7 separate regions of the Homo sapiens genome follow, and all the other regions are linked to region 2. The links are contacts of gene promoters, found by promoter capture Hi-C in blood cells and fetal thymus (Javierre and others, 2016). All regions are on one chromosome and are shown on one strand. The core of a region is centred on a gene start or on the middle of the fragment in contact, and the rest is flanking DNA. Distances in the headings are between cores, read along the strand shown. Region 1 overlaps LINC00504 (long intergenic non-protein coding RNA 504). Region 2 holds the start of BOD1L1 (biorientation of chromosomes in cell division 1 like 1). Region 3 overlaps CPEB2-DT (CPEB2 divergent transcript). Region 4 overlaps LINC00504 (long intergenic non-protein coding RNA 504). Region 5 overlaps LINC00504 (long intergenic non-protein coding RNA 504). Region 6 overlaps LINC00504 (long intergenic non-protein coding RNA 504). Region 7 overlaps CPEB2-DT (CPEB2 divergent transcript).

Region 1 (2,700 bases), core at 26-2,525, 1.1 Mb after region 2:
CATGGCTGGAGAGACAGAAATATATGACCATGGCAGAAGGGTGAAGGGGAAGCAAGCACCTTCTTCACATGGTGGTCGAGGACCAGGGGGAAGAGAGAGAGAGAGAAAGAGAAGGGAGAAGTGCTACACAGTTTCAAACAACCAGATCTCATGAGAACTCATTCACTATCAGGAGAGCAGCAAGGGGGATGTCCACCCCATGATCCAATCACCTCCCACCAGGTCCCTCCCCTAATATCGGGGATTAGAATTCAATATGAGATTTGGGTGGGGACACAGAGCCAAATCATAGCAGTGTGGCTTGAAGGTTCTGCACAAGCAGCCCCCAAATGGAGTTGAAAAAGTACAATAGACACATTTTATCCACTTGGCAGTTTTTTCAACTTTTGGCAATAGTCAGGATAGAGCCTGTGAAAGTTAAAACTTCAGGACTCATTTGGAAGTTGGGACACTAAGTTCTTCCACTTTGATGTGGTCTTTCTGTTGTGGAGAAGAAAACTAGAAATAAAGGAAGTGAAACAGAAAATGAAGGAGTGAGCAATACTCAGCACAGATGGCTTAATTCAAACAACAGGATGAAGCTGATTGCTTCCCTGACACTGATTATGTGCTGCCACTGTTCTGAGTGCTATACATACACTGCTAATCACTTCACTTTCTCAGCAAGGGGATACTCTCTATCTCCATTTTACATATGAAGAGACTGAAGCTCAGATAGCCTACCAGCCAGGATCCTAACCCAGGCATTTGGTGTCTAGGGACCATGTGCCTAAGGATCAGCTCCTCTGTGCAAAATTGTTTGAGTCAGCTAGGGAAGGAGTGTATGAATCAATTACAGTATGACCAAATTTATAAGTAAGTAAATTACTGAATGCATACATTTACAGACAAATGAACTGAATAAATATATAGACAGCATCACTTTTCTGAGAACTAAAAAGGATTTGGCAAATCTCCTTAGTCTTTATCTTGAGATATATCCTCCATGAAATCTTTGAATCTAATCAAAACTGCCACTAAGGGAAGGCAGGTTGTTATTTGCATCGTTGTAGGTACCATAGGGGAGGAGAAGCCAGGGTAGGGAAGAGAGGGAGAGAACATCAATGCAGCTTCACTCGTTCCTCTAAGGCCAGCCTTGCTGCCTCCCATGCCACAGAGTCCAAATCACCCACCAGTTACTTTCCAAGGAAATTATATTTTCTCTTCCAAAATGTTATTATTACGGATTTATTTGGCTTTGATTAAAGAAAAAATAGGGGGAAAACTGCTATCAGTCACTCACATTTCATTGTCCATTTATTTATTCACTAATTTATTTGCTGGACATTTATTAAGTCTGTGTGCCAGGATTTGTGTCAGATCCAGCTTTGCCTTGAGAGGAGAGTTGTTGTCTTAGGTTTGATTCCCCTGGAGGTAGACTGAGACCAGAATGGGTGTGCAAGAGGTCTGTTTGTAAGCAATCCCAGGACAACTGGCACAAGTGTGTGAGTAGCAGAGTCAGATTGGGCAGGGAAGGAAGCTAATAGAGGGTATGCCTTCATGCCGGTTAGTGCAGAGCTCAGTTTTACCTGGGCAACCCTGGAACATGTTGTAGAACATACCTCCAAGGGACCCTGCCCAAGGGGTGATGAGATAGGCTCATGAAGAAAAGAGGTTTAATTGACTCACAGTTCTACAGACTGTACAGGAAGCATGGCTGGGGAGGCCTTAGGAAACTTATGATCATGGCAGAAGGGCAAAGGGGAAGCAAGCACCTTCTTCACATGGTGGAGCAGGAGTGAGAGGGAGAGTGAAGGAAGAAGTTCTACACAGTTTCACAGTTTCAAACAACCAGATCTCATGAGAACTCACTCACTATCATGAGAATAGCAAGGGGGAAGTCCAGAGTCTTATCATCTAACTCACATCCATAATTGGTTGAGGTGAGGGCTGCTCCCAGGTACCATAATCCCCTTGCACTTTTGGTTTCCCTGTCTGTGATGCAGAAAATTCTCTCAGACTGAAAGCTGCAGGTGCTTGGAGTAGGATACTGTAGGCATGCACTAGAATGGTGAGTGCCAAGAGGATATAGTATGGGTAAGACCCCGCAGCATCTGCTACAAATGAACACATAGATGATTAATTTAAGCAGAAGCTAGACTAGGAATATGACCCTGGTACTACAAAAGCACATAGAAGAGAATGATTGATTTATTCTCCACTAGGCTTCCCTGACCACACAAGCACACACTTGTACACACATATCCATGCATGCACATGTACACACACATGCATACCTATGCGCAGATGCACACACACATGCACACACACACTCTTCTTCATTCCACAGCTCACAAGTAATTCTTTATCAGGTAACTTGGCTAAATGCTTATGTTCTGCTGTTTACAAGGATGAAGGCTGTCCTTTTGAGACCTCAAGCCTTGGAAAGACTGTGATTCCTCTTCTGATATGGAATTCAATGTAAAATCACCCTAACATATAAATATGTGTATGGAAGTTCAAGCTAGTTGTGATTTTTCTGATGTTGATACGCCAGTTTTTTTTGTATGTGCAAAAAAATGTCATATTTTTTCCAAACAATTTCTTGGTGTCCCTGTTTTGTTTGTGTCTCGGGTGCATACTTGGTGTGCCCATTGGGTGGTCTCTACACTCTTCACAAAACTAATGCATCATGCGGAGGAGGGTGACCTTGTCCACTTT
Region 2 (2,700 bases), core at 82-2,581:
AACAAGCAGACAAAAACAACCCCTACAAACCAGTTAATTTTCCAACATGCTTTCTGCTTCCAGAATTCTAGACTGTACTGTGGTTTTCCATCCATCTCACTGACTGCTCTTTCCTGGTGTCTTTGGCTAATTCTTTGCCAATCCAGCTAAGTTTACTTGTTCCTGCTAATGTCCCTTTCACTCTGACATTTGGTACAAAATCCCTTCCCCTTTCCAGCCTCTCTTTCTGGACAGGGAACCTTGTTGCTGTCCTTTCCCTTCTCTACATTACTCTCCTGAATCTGCTCTCTTTCCTGTCCTTTCTCCACTTCAGTATCTGCTGTCACCTCTCCTGCATCTTTTCTCCACTGAATGACTCGGTTCTCTCTACCCCACCTTCCTGTCCCTTCTTACCTTAGAATGGTGACATGGCCTAAGTTACCTAAATCAGGCAATCACTGCTAGAAACAATACTAAAGTCCTGTCTCAGGTTTGCCTCCTTATCTTTGCGCTCCCACCCCCACGATGTCCAGCAAAGCATATTACACATAACTTGATTCAATTACCATTTAGTCATTTCTCCAAAGGATAAAGGCCCTTACCGCCCAGAAACCTTCAAGAAAGAAGGCAAACATAACTTCGATACAAAGTAAAATCATCAGATATGAGAATGAATACAAAACTGGCTACTGTTAGCGCCACTGTTTCCAAACCAGTTCCTGTAAGAACAATGCCTTAGTCTTGCTCATCAGACCGGGGTAATCACTGTGCCGAAACCATGACTGGCACGTAGTAGGTACTTAAACACTAGTCGGTAAAACGAACCAAAGGACACGCTAAGGAATGAACACTCTGTGCTTTGCACAGTCCGTGGCACACAGCTGCAGCTCCAAGAGGAAGCCACTGCAAAAGAAGCGCGCCCTTGGGTCCTCCCCTTCCCTCGCAGACCCCCAAACCCGGCGCGCTCCTAACCTTGGTGTCCACGTCGGCCAGGCAGTCTCTGCGGAACTGGTCGAAGAGCCCCTGGCTCTTGAGGTGGTTCACGATCATGGCCACGAGCTGCGGGTCCCCGGCGCCCGCACCCGCGCCGCCCGCCCCGCCCGCGCCGGGGCCAGCCCCGGGGCCCGGCGGCGGCGGCGGTGGCTGCGGCTGCGGCTGCGGCGGGGGAGGCGGCGGCGCCGGAGGAGGCGGCTGCGGCTGTGGGTTGGTGGCCATGGTGGCCTGTGCCGGGGAGGGCAAGGGCCCTGACCGGCGGACGATCCTGGGAGGCGGCGGCTGCACTGGTCCCGCCGCCTGAGGGAAGCCAACGGGATGTTGTTACGGAACCAGCGGATCCAGAGCAACCCCGGAAGTGAAAGGGAACTGGGGGAAAGGAGGAAAAGACGGTGACAACATTGACGAAAGTCCGGCGACGGAGGCCGCGAAGAGCCAGTTTCGACCGTCGCCGGGCGCAAGCGCCCTCGCGAGGCCGAGCTGCGCCGGAAGTGGCGGCGACTGTGGCGACGGAGACGACAAGACTGTGCTGGTCGCGGGTTGTGGGGTTTAGGTCACCGGCAGGGGTCTGGAGTCCCTGGAGGTTAGGGCTTCGACCCGCGCGACACCTGGGGCCCTAGGTCTGAGCGGGGGCAGTGCGTTTCTGGCCCCGCTTCATCCGCGACGGCATTTTAGGCCTGCCTCTCTTGCTCCAGTTTCCCGGAGCAGTGCATAGAGATCCATAGACATTTGTAATGCGAACCCTACGTGGATCTGCTCATTCTAACTTCGCCCAACCCTCTTCGTTCTTAGCCTGTGATCCTGCACTATTCTTGTCCCAGCAGGTAGCTCCAAGTTCCTTCTGTCTCTCTTCTGCCTGCACATACCATTTCCCCGTGGGGGTCCCTTGTTTCTGGCAGTGTGCCTGTGGATTAGATCCGATCCCTCCAGCCCGTTCTTCCTATCTGTGAAGACAAATCGACAGGCTTTTATTTTTAGGAGATTTGCTATTGATTACTATGATTATAGCAGGTAAAACATCTATAGCACATATTATGTACCAAGCGTGGCGTTAAGTGCTTTTACATGTATTAACGCATTTAATCTTTGGACAAACACTAAGAGCTAGGTCTGATTACTGTCCCCAGTTTGCAAATCAGGGAACCAAGGCTCAGATAAATTAAGTATGTTGAGTAAGATTACACAGCTAGCAAATCACCTGCTTTTGGACTGCATCATCTTTGAAATTATTATTAGTACGTGGTCAAAGCAACATAAATATTAGAAAATTTCATAATTACTAAATAGTGTGTGTAACTTTATTGAAAAATGCATATTGTTGCTTTTTAAAGTTCCTACATCTGTGGCTGAATATATCTTATTAGTAGGAAAAGAAGGGTTGAGCATCAATTCTATTCCTATTTGTAATTTTTATAGCTGTGTGCCCTGAGAAACCTTGTTCATATAAACAAGTACTGTGCCTAGGAATGGAAGAGTTTTGTTGTAGCAATATCATTCAATTCTTGACCTCAAAAAATTAGATTTGATTATCTATGAGCTGACTTCAATTAGGCCCTCCTTCTATTTTATGGAAAGCAAAGAGCTGAAAACCACCTGGCTTGCCAAAGGATTTGTTTACTTAATCCTTATTTTTTCACTCTTTCAGATTCTGGGAAATATACCAGATAGGTTTTACCAAGATACCAAATGACTATGAATTAGACCTGATTTTTTCAATGAGGTGTACCT
Region 3 (2,700 bases), core at 65-2,564, 1.3 Mb after region 2:
ATGAGGATGCAAAGGTATGACACAGTGAACTTTGGGGACTCACAGGGAAAGGGTGGGAAGAAGGTAAAGAATAAAGACTACAAATTGGGTTCAGTGTATACTGCACAGGTGATGGATGCACGAAAATCTCACAGATCACCACTAAAGAAATTACTCATGTAACCAAATACCACCTGTTCCCCAAAGACATATGGAAATAAAAAATTAAAAAACAAAAGAAACAACTGCCTTCCTGTGTGTCATTGATTCTAAGACACATTTTTTTTTCATATTTTATTCTCTTGGAAAATGAGGTGTGCTTTACAATTGATATCATGTCAGAATTTAATTGGCAGTAGTTTTTGTTTCTTAGTTAAAAAAATTAAAAAATCATATTGCATCTTACAATTGATGGCATCTTTGATTTAACAGGATACAGTGGCATAGATCTAAAGGGACAGCCCATGGAGGACATTGGGAGAGCTGTGGATGTGTGGCAGGAATGGAAGAAGTTTGGGTAACTGGGGCAGAAAATGGCAAAGGTGACTGAGTAGGAGGATTCACAGTCAGAGACTGGGAATACCTTAGTCAAAAGATTGTACAAAGGTCAACTTGTCCATTATCATCATCCTCAAATATTTGAAAGGCTGTCATGTGGAAGAAGAAAACATACTTGTTTTGTATGGCTCCTGAGGACAGAATGAGGGCCAGCAAGTCAAGCAAATGATGCTGCGTGGGGATCAAGAAACTCCGAATTTTAGAAATTTGAACTGGCCAGCAATTGGATAAACTTTCTTGTGAGAAAGTGAAATTTATAGAAAGGAGTCAAGAAGAGGCATATGGCTTTAGAGGGTGTCCCTGCCTTAAGTTTGAGGTTTAACAAAGCAACTTCTCTCCGTTTTGAGATTCCTATACTCTAAAAATTCATACCCATTTTAGCCTCCACCAGAAAATAACTTAGGTAAATAATCACAAAGAAGAATAGAGAAATGTGTAGGAAGATGTTAATTGTAGAGGAAGAAAGAGTCAATCAATACATCCATTCATAGGGAAATGTTTCAATAACCACTAAAATCTGATGAAATATAACACAGCTGTTGGAAATGACCATTATGAAGACCATGTACTGGCAAGGAAAGCTGTGTCTGAAAGTCTTGAGAAAATATGACACAAAATTACATCTTTACTGATTATATGTAAAAATATGTAATTTTCTGCATATGGAAAAAACTAGATAGAAATATGGAAGTGAAAACAGGTGATGTTTTTGACTGGCAGAATTCTGGGTTAGTCTTTTTCTCTTTCATTTTAAATTTTGACTATTATTGTGGTTAGCAATTTCAGCAACCCTTGTTGTGGGGGAAGTTAGTTTGTCTTATTTGAGGGATACCAACTGGGACATCTCTGATATGAATAACATGTGCTGTAAACTCCTGGTGCTCATTCCTGAAACACAAAAGATATTTTAAGTTGTTTGGACCTCATTACCTAATAAATAGACCTGTTGGGTGTTTATTTTAGACTAGGGGCCTCATCAAAACATTACTGAGACAATAAAGGCAATGTGAACCAAGGCAATTTTGGAAACCTTTGACATAGCCCCTACACTCAAATAACTCATCATTAGTCTCAAAAGCCAGATCATAAATAAATGAAACTAGCAAAATAGGTCATATAATCTGGATGAGTACAAAATGAGAAGGGAGAATTGGAGTGGGAGAAGAGGGGAAGACAAGTAATTTTGACTGCATGGAAGGCATCAAAAAAAGCTGCACAGGAAGCATGATTTTTAATACTGGTTGTTTTATTTCATCTAAATAATAAATGTTCTTTAAATAAACTAGATTATACTGAGAAAATGGTAATCTTCTGCCCCAGTCACCATCAAAACCCCAGTCCTGCTCCCCAGAGCCAACCTCTTTCAATTGTTGTACCTACTTCTCCTGGTAATTGTTTCCCTATCTTCAAAATAAGATGCTTACACTGCTAAATCTTGTTTTATAAATTTTCAGCCTTTTGTAGTGACTTCCTGTTATAGAACTTAAGGGGTTAGCTTTCTTATGCCATCCTCAACCCACATCCCTCAATTTAATTATATATCAAATACTGGGTGCATCATTATGACTATATAAATGTTGTTTATTACTAAACCATGTAATGTACCATAATTACTTATTCCTTCTCCTAGAACTTATTGTTTTTCCTCGGATTCTTAATACATCCTGGTTTCTGTTAATTTTTTAAATGTACTTACTATTACTTTTGTCCTAAATGCCCCAACGGATCTTTTAAAATCTATCGGTAATTTTTGCACTTGCTGGGCTACAGTTTCAAACACTCTATACGTTTCTGCCTCCTGCCCTCCCTTCTTCGACCCACCCATCCTGCACCCTCTCTCCCACGGCCTACAGTTCTTCTGCTCCTATTGTGGACCCTTTGATCTCCGGGCCAGCTACCTGGCTTTCATGCTAAGCCTTCTTTTCTTCACCCTCCTCCACCCCAGGCATTACATGGCCTGGTTTTTTAATACCATGTCTTTCTCTTCCTTGATTGACTCCCTCATTTTATAAAGAACATTCTTCATTTGCTTCTTAAGAAAAGATGTGTAGTGGGCAAAACGTTTGAGCCTTTCATGTCAGAAAATGTCTGTATACTACTGTGTACCCTCAATCGATAATTTGGCTTAGTATAGAATAGTAGATTGAAAATAATTATCCCTCC
Region 4 (2,700 bases), core at 124-2,623, 1.2 Mb after region 2:
TTTATTAAGGGAGGGGGAAAAAGGAGAAAACAATTCTAGGAAGAGGAGAGGATAGATGAGAGGATAAGTTTAGACCTTCAACAAAACAGAAGTGGACAAGCTTCAACAATGTGTACAGTGTGCTCCACAATGCATGTTCTGTTCCAGGAAAACCATCATCTGTGGCCACAGGACAAATACACAAGGCTTCAATGTTTACTCGTAGACTGCCCTATCTCTTTCACTTGGATTTAGAAAATGAATAGACAGTTCTCCTGATAAAAGTTACAAACAAAGCCAACTTCATCTGTCAACCTTTTTTTTTTTTTTTTTTTTTGAGACTTTGAGACAGAGTCTTGCTTTGTTGCCCAGGCTGGAGTGCAGTGGTGAGATCTCAGCTCACGGCAACCTCCGTCCCCGGGTTCAAGCAATTCTCTTGCCTCAGCCTCCAGAGTTGCTGGGACTACAGGCACGTGCCACCATGCCCAGCTAATTTTTGTATTTTTAGTAGAGGTGGGGTTTCATCATGTCGGTCAGGCTGGTCTTGAACTGCTGACCTCAAGCAATCCACCTGCCTCGGCTTCCCAAAGTGCTGGGATAGCAGGTGTGAGCCAGTGCACCCAGCCACCTGCCAACCTCTTTTTGATAAACATAACCGAGCTTCACCTGTTATCAAAGACACCCTCTAAGATCTGTGAACAGCAATTTTTTGGTTGGTTATTTCCATATCATTGACATCATATTACAAAATCATTCCTATCAAGAAAGAAAGGAGAAATAAAATGATATTTTCAGAGCATCTGCTATAGATTAGGCATGTTTCAGGCAGTGTTGATGGCCATGTTTACTTGGCACTGACAACATGCCCAGAAGTTGAGCATTGGGACCTATTATTGTCAGAGACACAGAGAGGCTGCTACGCCAGCCTGAGCTCACCTGGCTGCTGATGGCAGAGCCAGGATCTGAATGCCAGTGTGTCTGACTCCCCAGAATCAAGTTCTAAACCTCTACAGCACACCACCCCCACCCCGATCCTTGCTCCCACAAGGTCCTTGTAGCCAACTAATTACCAAAGCACCATAGATTTCTGGAACAGCTTCTGTGAAATAAAATTGATCAGGGCTGCGAGACAACTCACTTACTGAATTGCCAGTGCTCAACCCTGACCTTCCCCATTGAGGATGAAGCCCCCAGCACACACATACTCCATGTGCTAGAAAACATAATACTAGAGGGAGAAGGTGGAAGGGGAAAGGAGAAATAAGGAGGGAAGGCAGCAAGCCTCCCTCCTACTGTGCTCCCTCCCATCCATCCAGGGCTTCCCCTGGCCCCCGCCCCCTCCCCACAGCCCTGCAGTTGGTCCCATTATCCCTTCACCCCAGCTAATTATAGTCACTGATTACCTAACGGCAAGCCCTACTATCACCTGCTTTGGCCTGACAGATTATGCCATCTGGGCCACGTGGCTAGGGTCTGAGAGCCATGAGAGGTCACAGAGAGGGGCAAACGGCTCTGAATGGGAAGAAATGTGTTTACAGCCCTGACAGCTGACTGGGCAATTAAAGGGGCTTTAGCTGTGTGTTCCCAGCTGAAACCCCTCTCCAGGGGCCTCGCCACCTAGTGCTATTAGCTGATGGGATGTGGCTGCATCTCATACCGGTCGGTTCCAAATGTGGACATGCTATGGGACTGCACCCTCTCCTAAAAAGGACAAGAAAAAGGACTCAGAGAAAGCTGTGGGCTCACAGTTGTTTGAGGTCCTTGTTGAGCCGACACCAGAATATACCCTCAGAAGAAATGGCCAGCATTTTGAGAAAGCAGTGTCCAAATACCTTTCTCACTTCCTGTGTTTATTGTACATTACCTTAAATACATGTATGAAACACACTTTATGAAATTGAACTCTATGTGACTTCTATATTAACAACTTTTGTTTCCTTATCAGCAGTGTGTCTGTCTCTAACTTTACTATGCCTGTAAATGACTGTCAATCTTATTAAGATGCAGGTTCTAAATCTGTCTATGTGGGGAAAGACAGGTGAGGTAGAACACAGTTTCAGTATTTCTAAGGAGCTCCTAGAGGAAGCAAACACCACTGGTCCACAGACCATACTTTGAGTAGCCAGGACCTAATTCACTACTGAATAAAATTAAATTAGTGAATTAATATTATATAGAAAACCTACAGATTAGTATTTCTCAAACTGTGTACTTCGGAACGCTAGTTATCCAAGAAAGCTGCCTGCGCTCCAGTAGGTTCTTAGTCAAGTAAGTTTGGGAAGCACTAGGTACTCTGGGTCCCCCTGGGAATTCACAATACACATGATTAGCATATCAGAGCTGAGAAAACCCACAGTGATCTCTTCCACTTTTTTGTGAACAGTTTGCAGTCTACTAAAAGTTTTGTGCTCTATGCCCTTAATGTTTGTTGCAATCCTTGCTGAGTATTTTATACTATCCTGATTGCTTAACCTGTCTATTAATTTCTCCATTTTGAAAATGCCTTCTCAGCCAGCCAAAGTTATTCACATGAAACACACACACGCACATGCACACACACTGGAAAGAAAGGCTTTGAGACTTCAGAGCAATGCCCATATGAGGTACTGCCATCAAATGCAGGCATTTTGGCAGTTAGTTTCCTGACAGCTTCTGAGTACAAATGAGTAAAGCTTGCCCAGCTTTTCCTACTCCCAGTTTGAGGAGGAAGCAGGAATAGAG
Region 5 (2,700 bases), core at 125-2,624, 1.2 Mb after region 2:
AGCCTTCGTAGGGTGGGATAAAATTATCAGGGATGTATCACCATTCAACTTCTCCCCCTGCCCAGTCCTGCTTCCTTCTTTTCCCTTCCACTGGTCTTCATCCCAAAGAAACACTTTGATAAATATCCAGCCTGTTAAATTATTTCCAGAGTTGGCTTTCCAGATGAACAACCTATGATGTCTTATTACATTAGAAACTTTCCTTCCTCTTAGGAACTATCTGGGTTCCTAAGGAGGAAAGGAGAGAAGGGGAAAGGAGGGGAGAAGGGAAGGGAGGGGAGAGAAGGAGAAGACAGGGGAGGGGAGAGGAGGGGAAAAGGGAGGGGAAGGGAGCGGAAGGGAGGGAAGGTAGGGGAAGGTAGGGGAAGGGAAGGAAAGGGAGGGGAAGGGAGAGGAAGAGAGGGACAGGAAATCAAACAGAATTATTCATGCTAATTAACTAAATTGGTCTCTTCTTCCAGCACCCTCAGAAGCCTCAGTGTGGTTACTATTTCCAGTGATATTTAAACATTTAGCAAAAGTGATGAGAATCTTAATTTGTTTACTTAGAAATAGGATTATTCCTAGACTAAAAGAAAATACTAGGAAAAGGTGGCCATAAACACGATCTGCTGAGCTGATTTTTCCCATACTGCCTACTGCTTCCCTGCCTGAAAGTTTAGTGGGGTCTATCTAGTTCTAAACACATATACTTGTATGGATCCTTTAACATAGACATTATAACAACAGACATAATGGGTTTGCTTAAAAGTCATCCAAACCTGAATTGTGAAGTAAGGCATATATACATGGATTACACTAAACAAGTACCTTGAGCAAAGTTATTCACCCCAAACTACCAAATACACCTGCAGCGTGGTCTAACATTTATTTGTGATTACCACTCATAATCATACTTAGCCAGGTGTGCCAGGGAGAAGAGTATCTGACCCAGCTGACACTAGATTGCTCTACCATTTGCATTGATCAAGTTCTGCTGGTTCCTTTCCATGTCCTCATACTGCTATGTTAGTCTGCCTTGGGGCACCTTTTCTATGTTTCAAAGACCATATTCCCAGTCCTTGCCATTTGTTTTCTGCTGGTTTCATTTATAAATCATCTTAAGCAATTGGATTAGATTGCTTAGTCCATACAATGCTGCACAAATATCTGTGCATAAATGTCCCTTGGCCTGAGAATGGCTGCTCTGCATGCATGGCCCTGCGGTCCTCTGTGTCTGTCTCTCTGATCTGAGTGCACTGTCTTGAATGCTGTTTTTATGCTTTATGTCATACCTTTGGGCTCTGCACACATTTTACTCATGTTAATGTAATTCATTGCTGAGGATCTGGGCTAAGAACAGCTCCTTTATAGAGGCAGCTGCCATGACACTTTCTGAGTGTCAACATTTGCATCCTCTGACTCCACGAGTGTAGGGATTCTGATATTTAGGAATGTCACTCACAATCATGTGGGCTATGCTGGTTTGCTGCTCCTTCAGCCATCTCTAAGAACACTGACTGTTTAATTCTTCCAATTTCTCAGGCATGAATCTTCTGCTCTTGGGACACTAAGACCCCTGCCATTTATTCTCCCATGCATTTCTACTCATTGTAAATGTGATCCTGTTGGGGCCTTAAATAGGACCCAATAAATAAATAGTCAACCTCTTTACTGATTAAGTTCCAAACCAGTAGAGAAATCTAAGGAAGCAGGCAGGTTGTGCCAAAGTGTGACACTGTTAAGCTGATAATAGAGAATATGGCTTATAACCACAGGCATTTAAACTTCCTTATACTGAATACCAGAATTTGCCAGAATTATCTCCCAGACATAGCAATTCGGAGCCAGAGCAAACACACATAGTTCCTAAGAGGAAGGAAAGTTTCTAAGTATTGCCAGTTTCTCTCTCTAGACTCTCCAAAGAGTTTAGTTATTTCTCTCCTCCAAGGGAAGAGGCCAGGAGTGATATGGTAATGGATGTTTCTCTACATGGATTAAGAACACCAAGAACGGTCAACAGTAGTATCAAATAGCCTTTCCAGATGCATCCTATGTCCAAGACACTGTTTTAAGCCCATTACATATTTTAACCCATTTAATCCTCATGACAACCTGATGAGGTAGGTACTATTTCTAACCTCCACTTCAGCAGATGAGGCACAGAGAGAGTAATATGTTTGCTTAGGGTCACTCTCCCAAAAAGGGCTAGAACCAGGATTTGAACCCAAGAAGTCAGATTCCAGAAACAAGGCTCTTAACTACTGAATTATGAGTTCCAAATTTACCAAGAATACACAACTGTTCTCTCCTAACAATTCCCTTCTCTATAGTCCAACTACACCTGCCCCTCAAGGCTAAGCACGAGCTCCAGCTTCCTGAAAAGTCTCCCTGACAAAGGAGTTCCTTGAAGTTCCCTCACCTATTAGACCTGCAAGGCTTTGGAGCTACAAGAATAGCCTTTACTTTTAAACCTACTAATTGACAGCTTGAACACTGTAGCCTTTGTTCCAGGGTGGACAGAAACCAAGGGATGCAAGGGTTAAGCCAGTGAGAGATAAGGTCTGATTCATTCTAGCCTATTATTAGATAACTCCAAGTGAATGAAATGATGTAGAGAAAAAATGGCTAAAAATAGGGTCTGATTTGTATCTTGCAACTATCAATTTTCTACCATCTTAGGGTATTATTATGAGTGCCTGCTCTGTGCTACGTGCTGGG
Region 6 (2,700 bases), core at 77-2,576, 1.2 Mb after region 2:
CATTAGCATTTCTGAGAGAAGGATAAAAAGCAAATGACCTGGAAAACGTATTACAGAGAAAAATTGAAGAAAATTTTCCTAATTTTACTAGACAGGTAGACATCCAGATACAAGAAATCCAGAGAATACTATGAGATACTGTACAAAATGAACAGGAGGGCATAGAGATACCAGATTGTCCAAGGTCAATGCAAAAGAAACCTTAAAGAGAAAGGCCTAGAGAAAAAGGTCAGATCATGTGCACAGGGAATCCCATCAGGCTAACAGCAGAAACCTTATAAGCCTGAAGAGATTGGGGGTCTAAACTTAGCATTTTTCAAGAAAAGAAATTTCAACTGACAATTTTATATCCCTCCCTAAGTTTCATAAGCAAAGGAGACATAAAATCTTTTCCAGATAAGCAAGTTTTAAGGGAATTCATTACCACTACACGAGCATTACAAGAGATTCTTCAGAGCATTCTAAACATGGAAACAAAGAACAATAACAGCTACCACAAAAATGCACCTAAGTACATAGTCAATAGACCCTATAAAACAACCACACAATACAAACTACAAAGCAACAAGCCAATAACTTCGTGGTAGCCCCAAAACATCATATATCAATATTAACCTTGAATGATAATAGGTCTAACAATCCAAATTAAAAGTCACAGAACGCCAATTTGTATTTTTTTTTAAAAAAAAAGAGGATCCCTTCATCTTCTGACTTCAAGAAATCCATCGCACACATAATGACACCCATAGACTCAAAATAAAGAGTTGGATAAAGATCTATTATGAAAATGGAAAACAAAAAGGCAGGGGTCACTATTCTTATATCAGAAAAAAATAGACTTTAACTAACAACAGTAAAAAAGGACAAAGAAGGGCATTACACAATGATAAAGGGCTCACTTCAACAAGAAGACTTAACTTTCCTAAATATATACACACCCAACGTTGGAGCACCCAGATTCATAAAACAACTACTTTAGAAATATGAAAAGACTTAATAACATTATAATAGTGAGGAAAGCCCTATTCAACACCCCTCTTACAGCATTAGAGAGATCACTGAGGCAGAAAATTTACAAAGAAATTCTGGACTTAAGTTTGATACTTCACCATTTGGACCTAATGGGCATCTACAGAATACGCCATCCATCAACCACAGAATATACATTCTTCTCATTTGCACACAGAACGTACTTCAAGACTGACCAGATGCTCACCATAAGGCAAGTCTCGATACATTAAAAAAGCAAAACAATACCAACCATACTCTCAGATCACAGTAGAATAAAACTAAAAATCAATAACAAGAAGATCTCTCTAAACCACATAATTACATGGAAATTAAACAACTTGCTCCTGGATAACTTTTGGGTAAAGAATGAAATTAAGTCAGAAATCAAAAACTTATGTGAAATAAATGAAAACAGAAACCCAACATACCAAAATCTTTAGGATGCAGCAAAAACAGTGTTAAGAGAAAAGTTTATAGTGCTAAGCACCTACCTCAAAAAGTTAGAAAGATCTCAAATTAATAATCTGAGAGCAAACCTAGAGGAACTAGAAAAGCAAGAACAAACTAACCCCAAAGCTAGCAGAAGAAAATAACTAAAATCAGGTCAGAACTGAACAAAACTTATGTCCCAGAATCTTCACAAAGACTCCATGAAATCAAAAGGTATTTTTGAAAGGATAAACAAGATCAATAGACCACTAGCTACATTAACAAGAGAAAAAGAGAGAAGATGCAAATATCCACAATTAGAAATAACAAAGGTGACATAATATCTCACAGAAATACAGAAGATCCTCAGAGGCTATTATAAATACCTCTATACACACAAACTACAAATTCTAGAGGAAATGAGTAAGTTACTGGAAACACACAGTCTCACCAGGTTGAATCAGGAAAAACTGAAACCATGAACAGACTAATATTGAGTTCTGAAATTGAATCAGCAACAAAATCCTACCAACCAAAAAAAGCCATAGACTGGATGGATTCACAGCTGAATTCTACCAGACATACAAAGAAGAGCTGGTACCAATTCTACAAAAACTATTCCAAAACATCAATCAAAGAGGAGGGACTCATTCCCAACATATTCTATGAAGCCACAATTATCTTGATACCAAAAGCTGGTGAAGACATGAAAAAAAGAGAAAATTACAGGCCAATATGCCTGACAAATATAGATGCAAAAATTCTCAACAAAATACTAGGAAATCAAATCTAACAGCACATTACAAAGTTAATTCATCATGATCACCTAGGCTTAATTCCTGGGATGTAACGTTGGTTCAACATATGCAAATTAATAAATGTCATTCACCGCATAAACAGAATTAAAAACAAAAACCATATGGTCATCTCAATAAATGTGAAAAAGTCTTCATTAAATTCTAACATCCTTTCATAATAAAAACCCTCAAGAACTTAAGCACTGAAAGAGCATGCTTGAAAATAATGAAAGCCATCTATGACAAACCCATGGGCAACATCATACTAAGTGGGCAAAAACTGGAAGCATTTCCCTTGAGAACTGAAACAAGAATGTCCACTCTTACCACTCCTGTTCAACATAATACTAGAAGTGCTAGCCAGAGCAATCAGGCAAGAGAGAGAAATAAAAGGCATCCAAATAAGAAAAGAAGTCAAACTATCACTCTTCACAGATGATAAGTATTTTAGAGACCTAAAAAC
Region 7 (2,700 bases), core at 32-2,531, 1.4 Mb after region 2:
TTCCAGGAGGATGAAGCTCTTGTTATGATTCATTATACTTTTATACATCTGTCCTTGTTGGCCTTCCCTTATTATTTGTTAATTTCAAAATGGCTGCAATGGATCCAGACTCTGAAAAAGAAATAATCCTTGATGCTCTTCCTTGTTATCAATCGACCTGCCTCTGCCTCTTCCTAGCTCTGTGGTCTCAGCGAAATTAATAATATTCTCTTAGTTGAGGTTTCTTATTTTATTCTATTATTATTATTTTTATTATACTTAAAGTTCTAGGATACATGTGCAGAACGTGCAGGTTTGTTACATAGGTATACACGTGTCATGGTGGTTTGCTTCACCCATCAACCTGTCATCTACCTTAGGTATTTCTCCTAATGCTATCCCTCCCCTAGCCCCCAACCCCCCAAGAGGCCCCGGTGTGTGATATTCCTCTCCCTGTGTCCATGTGTTGAGGTTTCTTATTTGTAATATGGGTGTAATAATGCTTACCTCTCAGGGCTGTTAAAAATATAGAGAATACTCAATGGATTGTGCAAAACTCCTAGGACAGTGTTTGGCAGAGAGCAGGCCCTCCTCTCCTTCCTACTGTATAGCAAACGTCTTGAGAATAGGAACATGTCCACACGGTGTTTTGTACTTAACAGGCATTGGAAACAGATTTGCTGAATGAATGGATAAACAAATATAATACTACAAAAGGATTTTTAATTATTAGTATTACAAAATAACTTTACATACAGCAAGTTGATAATTTTGGCATTCAGTCTTGTAGTACAGTCTACAAGATATATATATATACACCATATATATATATACACATATATATACCATATATATACATATATATACACACATATATATATACACATATATATATACCAGTATATACACTACGTACACTATACATATCTTGTAGACTAAAATGGAATATATGATCATTAATAACACTAAATCTTTTCACTTTAACATGTTTGCCCTATTGTTTATTTAATCTCTGATGTCTGTACCAGCTCCCTGCTACCTGGCTTTATCCTTTCCTGTGAACTAATCATTCACTCATGCATGCAATTAACATTTGCTGACCATTTACTGTCTACCATAAACCAGGGTGCATGATTCATAAGACTCCTCTGTCTCTGCCTCCAAAAGATTTATACACTATGAAAAAAATGCATAAACAATTTATAATTAATGGAGGTGTTATGATAGAAGTACAAAAAAGTGCTATGGTTGTAAGAATGATTCATTTTGCCTAGGGAGTTTGCTTACCAGAGCTTACATGCTAGAAAGTGATTTTTCTCTTTGTAAACTAAATTGAGTTACTGGTAGTAAAAATAGCTTCCATTTGTCTAGTACTTTAAAAGTGCTTTCACATCCATTTCTTCTTTTAATCCTCATAATGAATGCTCTATAGTGTAATGGTTTTCTTTAAGATATATTTGCAAAAAAAAAAAAAAGGATGTTATGAGGCCAGCTGATATGCAACATGGAAATGCATTTGAAATCTCATAGGTAGAAGATAGAAGCCAGAACTGGAACCAGTGTTCAATTGGAACGTTATGGGAATCATTCCAAGAATTTTTGCTATTTTGCTAATAGCAAAGACCAGTTTCTTCACCTTCATCCTCAATGTCATCTCCTCATTTCAAGCCTGACCTACCATCTCGCTTTTGGGTTATTCCGACAGCCTTCTGACTGGATTCTCTGATTTGTATCTCATCTCCCTCCAAACCATTTGCCATATTGGCCACAAAATAATTTTTTAATACAAATTGGACCACATCATTCTCCCATTGAAAGCTGTTTTATGCTATAGAGCTTCACACTCCCTATAGAGTTAAATCCAAATGCTTTCGCATGTTTATAAAACTCTCCATCATCTAAACCTGTCAACTTCTTCAAACTTGTTATTGGTCACTTTCTTCAAACTATACTTACTGATTTTACTCCAAGCCACCATACCATCTCCATTTTTGTGCCTTTATAGATGCAATCTTTGGCCTAGAATGCTTTTAGCTCTCCACCATTCTGTCTGGTACAACGATGGCAGACATACAAAGTGTGGCGATTTTCTTGTTTATAACTAGACATACTTAACAACAATAGCAGAATCTTCACAACATAATTTTCATTCTTGCTTTTTTTCCCTCTTATTTTATTACTACATAAAATAGAGTTTGGGAACCATTAGTCTAGCTTTTTCTCTTAAAATCTCAGGGAAAGATTATTATGTTTTTATTGCATATTAAAGATTCATGACATTTATATTCATTTAACATAGAACTAAAATATCTTCTATTGTGAGCATATTTTGTGCTACATGCTAAGTAACTAGCTGGGGATAAGTCAAACAGGGCATATCTGAGTGTATCATGGATCTCATATTCAAATGAAATAGACAATAAAATAAATAAATGAATTAAATCTTACATATTGGTGAGCAATGCTTCTGAGGAAATAAAAGATGGCCTGAGAAGGAGGACACTTTAGAGTGGACAGCCCATGAAGGTTTCTAGGAGGAAATATATCTTAGATGAAGTTTGAAAGATGAGGAGCCAGCTGTGCAGTTGGGAGAAGAGTCAGCTGGGCTGAGGCAGCTGCAAGCACAGAAACTCTAAGTCAGAACAAAGTTTAGAGTGTTTGAAGACTGAACGACCAGGATAGTTGAGCATGGCGTGTGAGGGGTTGAGTTGATGGTAGAAG

Evidence for each region. Contacts are between HindIII fragments. The CHiCAGO score rates a contact against its expected background, and 5 or more counts as called.
Region 1: a contact is called between a fragment that was not itself captured here and the fragment with the promoter of BOD1L1 in region 2, in 1 of 17 cell types (monocytes). The highest score is 5.4, in monocytes.
Region 3: a fragment that was not itself captured here is called in contact with the fragment with the promoter of BOD1L1 in region 2 in 1 of 17 cell types (total CD4 T cells); the score reaches 5.2 in total CD4 T cells.
Region 4: a contact is called between a fragment that was not itself captured here and the fragment with the promoter of BOD1L1 in region 2, in 2 of 17 cell types (monocytes and M2 macrophages). The highest score is 7.2, in monocytes.
Region 5: a fragment that was not itself captured here is called in contact with the fragment with the promoter of BOD1L1 in region 2 in 1 of 17 cell types (M2 macrophages); the score reaches 6.6 in M2 macrophages.
Region 6: a fragment that was not itself captured here is called in contact with the fragment with the promoter of BOD1L1 in region 2 in 3 of 17 cell types (M2 macrophages, monocytes and naive B cells); the score reaches 8.9 in M2 macrophages.
Region 7: a fragment that was not itself captured here is called in contact with the fragment with the promoter of BOD1L1 in region 2 in 4 of 17 cell types (naive CD8 T cells, monocytes, total B cells and 1 more); the score reaches 9.6 in naive CD8 T cells.

The regions. Positions count from the first base shown.
Region 1 is chr4:14,766,773-14,769,472 of GRCh38, forward strand. The region is part of intron 2 of LINC00504 (long intergenic non-protein coding RNA 504); the gene reads right to left. Among named protein-coding and RNA genes, the nearest start is that of LINC00504, 120 kb to the right of the region's middle. RefSeq lists enhancers at 1,761-1,980, 2,021-2,070. The HindIII fragment of the contact is 5,250 bases long and covers 1-2,700 here.
Region 2 is chr4:13,626,394-13,629,093 of GRCh38, forward strand. It overlaps BOD1L1 (biorientation of chromosomes in cell division 1 like 1), which reads right to left and starts at 1,332. Exons shown (of 26, transcript NM_148894.3): 1 at 952-1,332. The coding sequence starts at 1,194. MIR5091 (microRNA 5091) reads left to right here and starts at 1,472; the gene lies at 1,472-1,564. RefSeq lists enhancers at 761-1,491, 1,329-1,488, 1,492-2,222 and a silencer at 989-1,188. The HindIII fragment of the contact is 7,220 bases long and covers 1-2,700 here.
Region 3 is chr4:14,951,263-14,953,962 of GRCh38, forward strand. The region is part of intron 7 of CPEB2-DT (CPEB2 divergent transcript); the gene reads right to left. Among named protein-coding and RNA genes, the nearest start is that of CPEB2-DT, 49 kb to the right of the region's middle. The HindIII fragment of the contact is 3,387 bases long and covers 1-2,700 here.
Region 4 is chr4:14,866,595-14,869,294 of GRCh38, forward strand. The region is part of intron 1 of LINC00504 (long intergenic non-protein coding RNA 504); the gene reads right to left. Among named protein-coding and RNA genes, the nearest start is that of LINC00504, 20 kb to the right of the region's middle. The HindIII fragment of the contact is 2,551 bases long and covers 99-2,649 here.
Region 5 is chr4:14,808,942-14,811,641 of GRCh38, forward strand. The region is part of intron 2 of LINC00504 (long intergenic non-protein coding RNA 504); the gene reads right to left. Among named protein-coding and RNA genes, the nearest start is that of LINC00504, 78 kb to the right of the region's middle. The HindIII fragment of the contact is 3,678 bases long and covers 1-2,700 here.
Region 6 is chr4:14,788,807-14,791,506 of GRCh38, forward strand. The region is part of intron 2 of LINC00504 (long intergenic non-protein coding RNA 504); the gene reads right to left. Among named protein-coding and RNA genes, the nearest start is that of LINC00504, 98 kb to the right of the region's middle. The HindIII fragment of the contact is 2,973 bases long and covers 1-2,700 here.
Region 7 is chr4:14,976,898-14,979,597 of GRCh38, forward strand. All of the region lies in intron 7 of CPEB2-DT (CPEB2 divergent transcript), which reads right to left. Among named protein-coding and RNA genes, the nearest start is that of CPEB2-DT, 24 kb to the right of the region's middle. The HindIII fragment of the contact is 4,392 bases long and covers 1-2,700 here.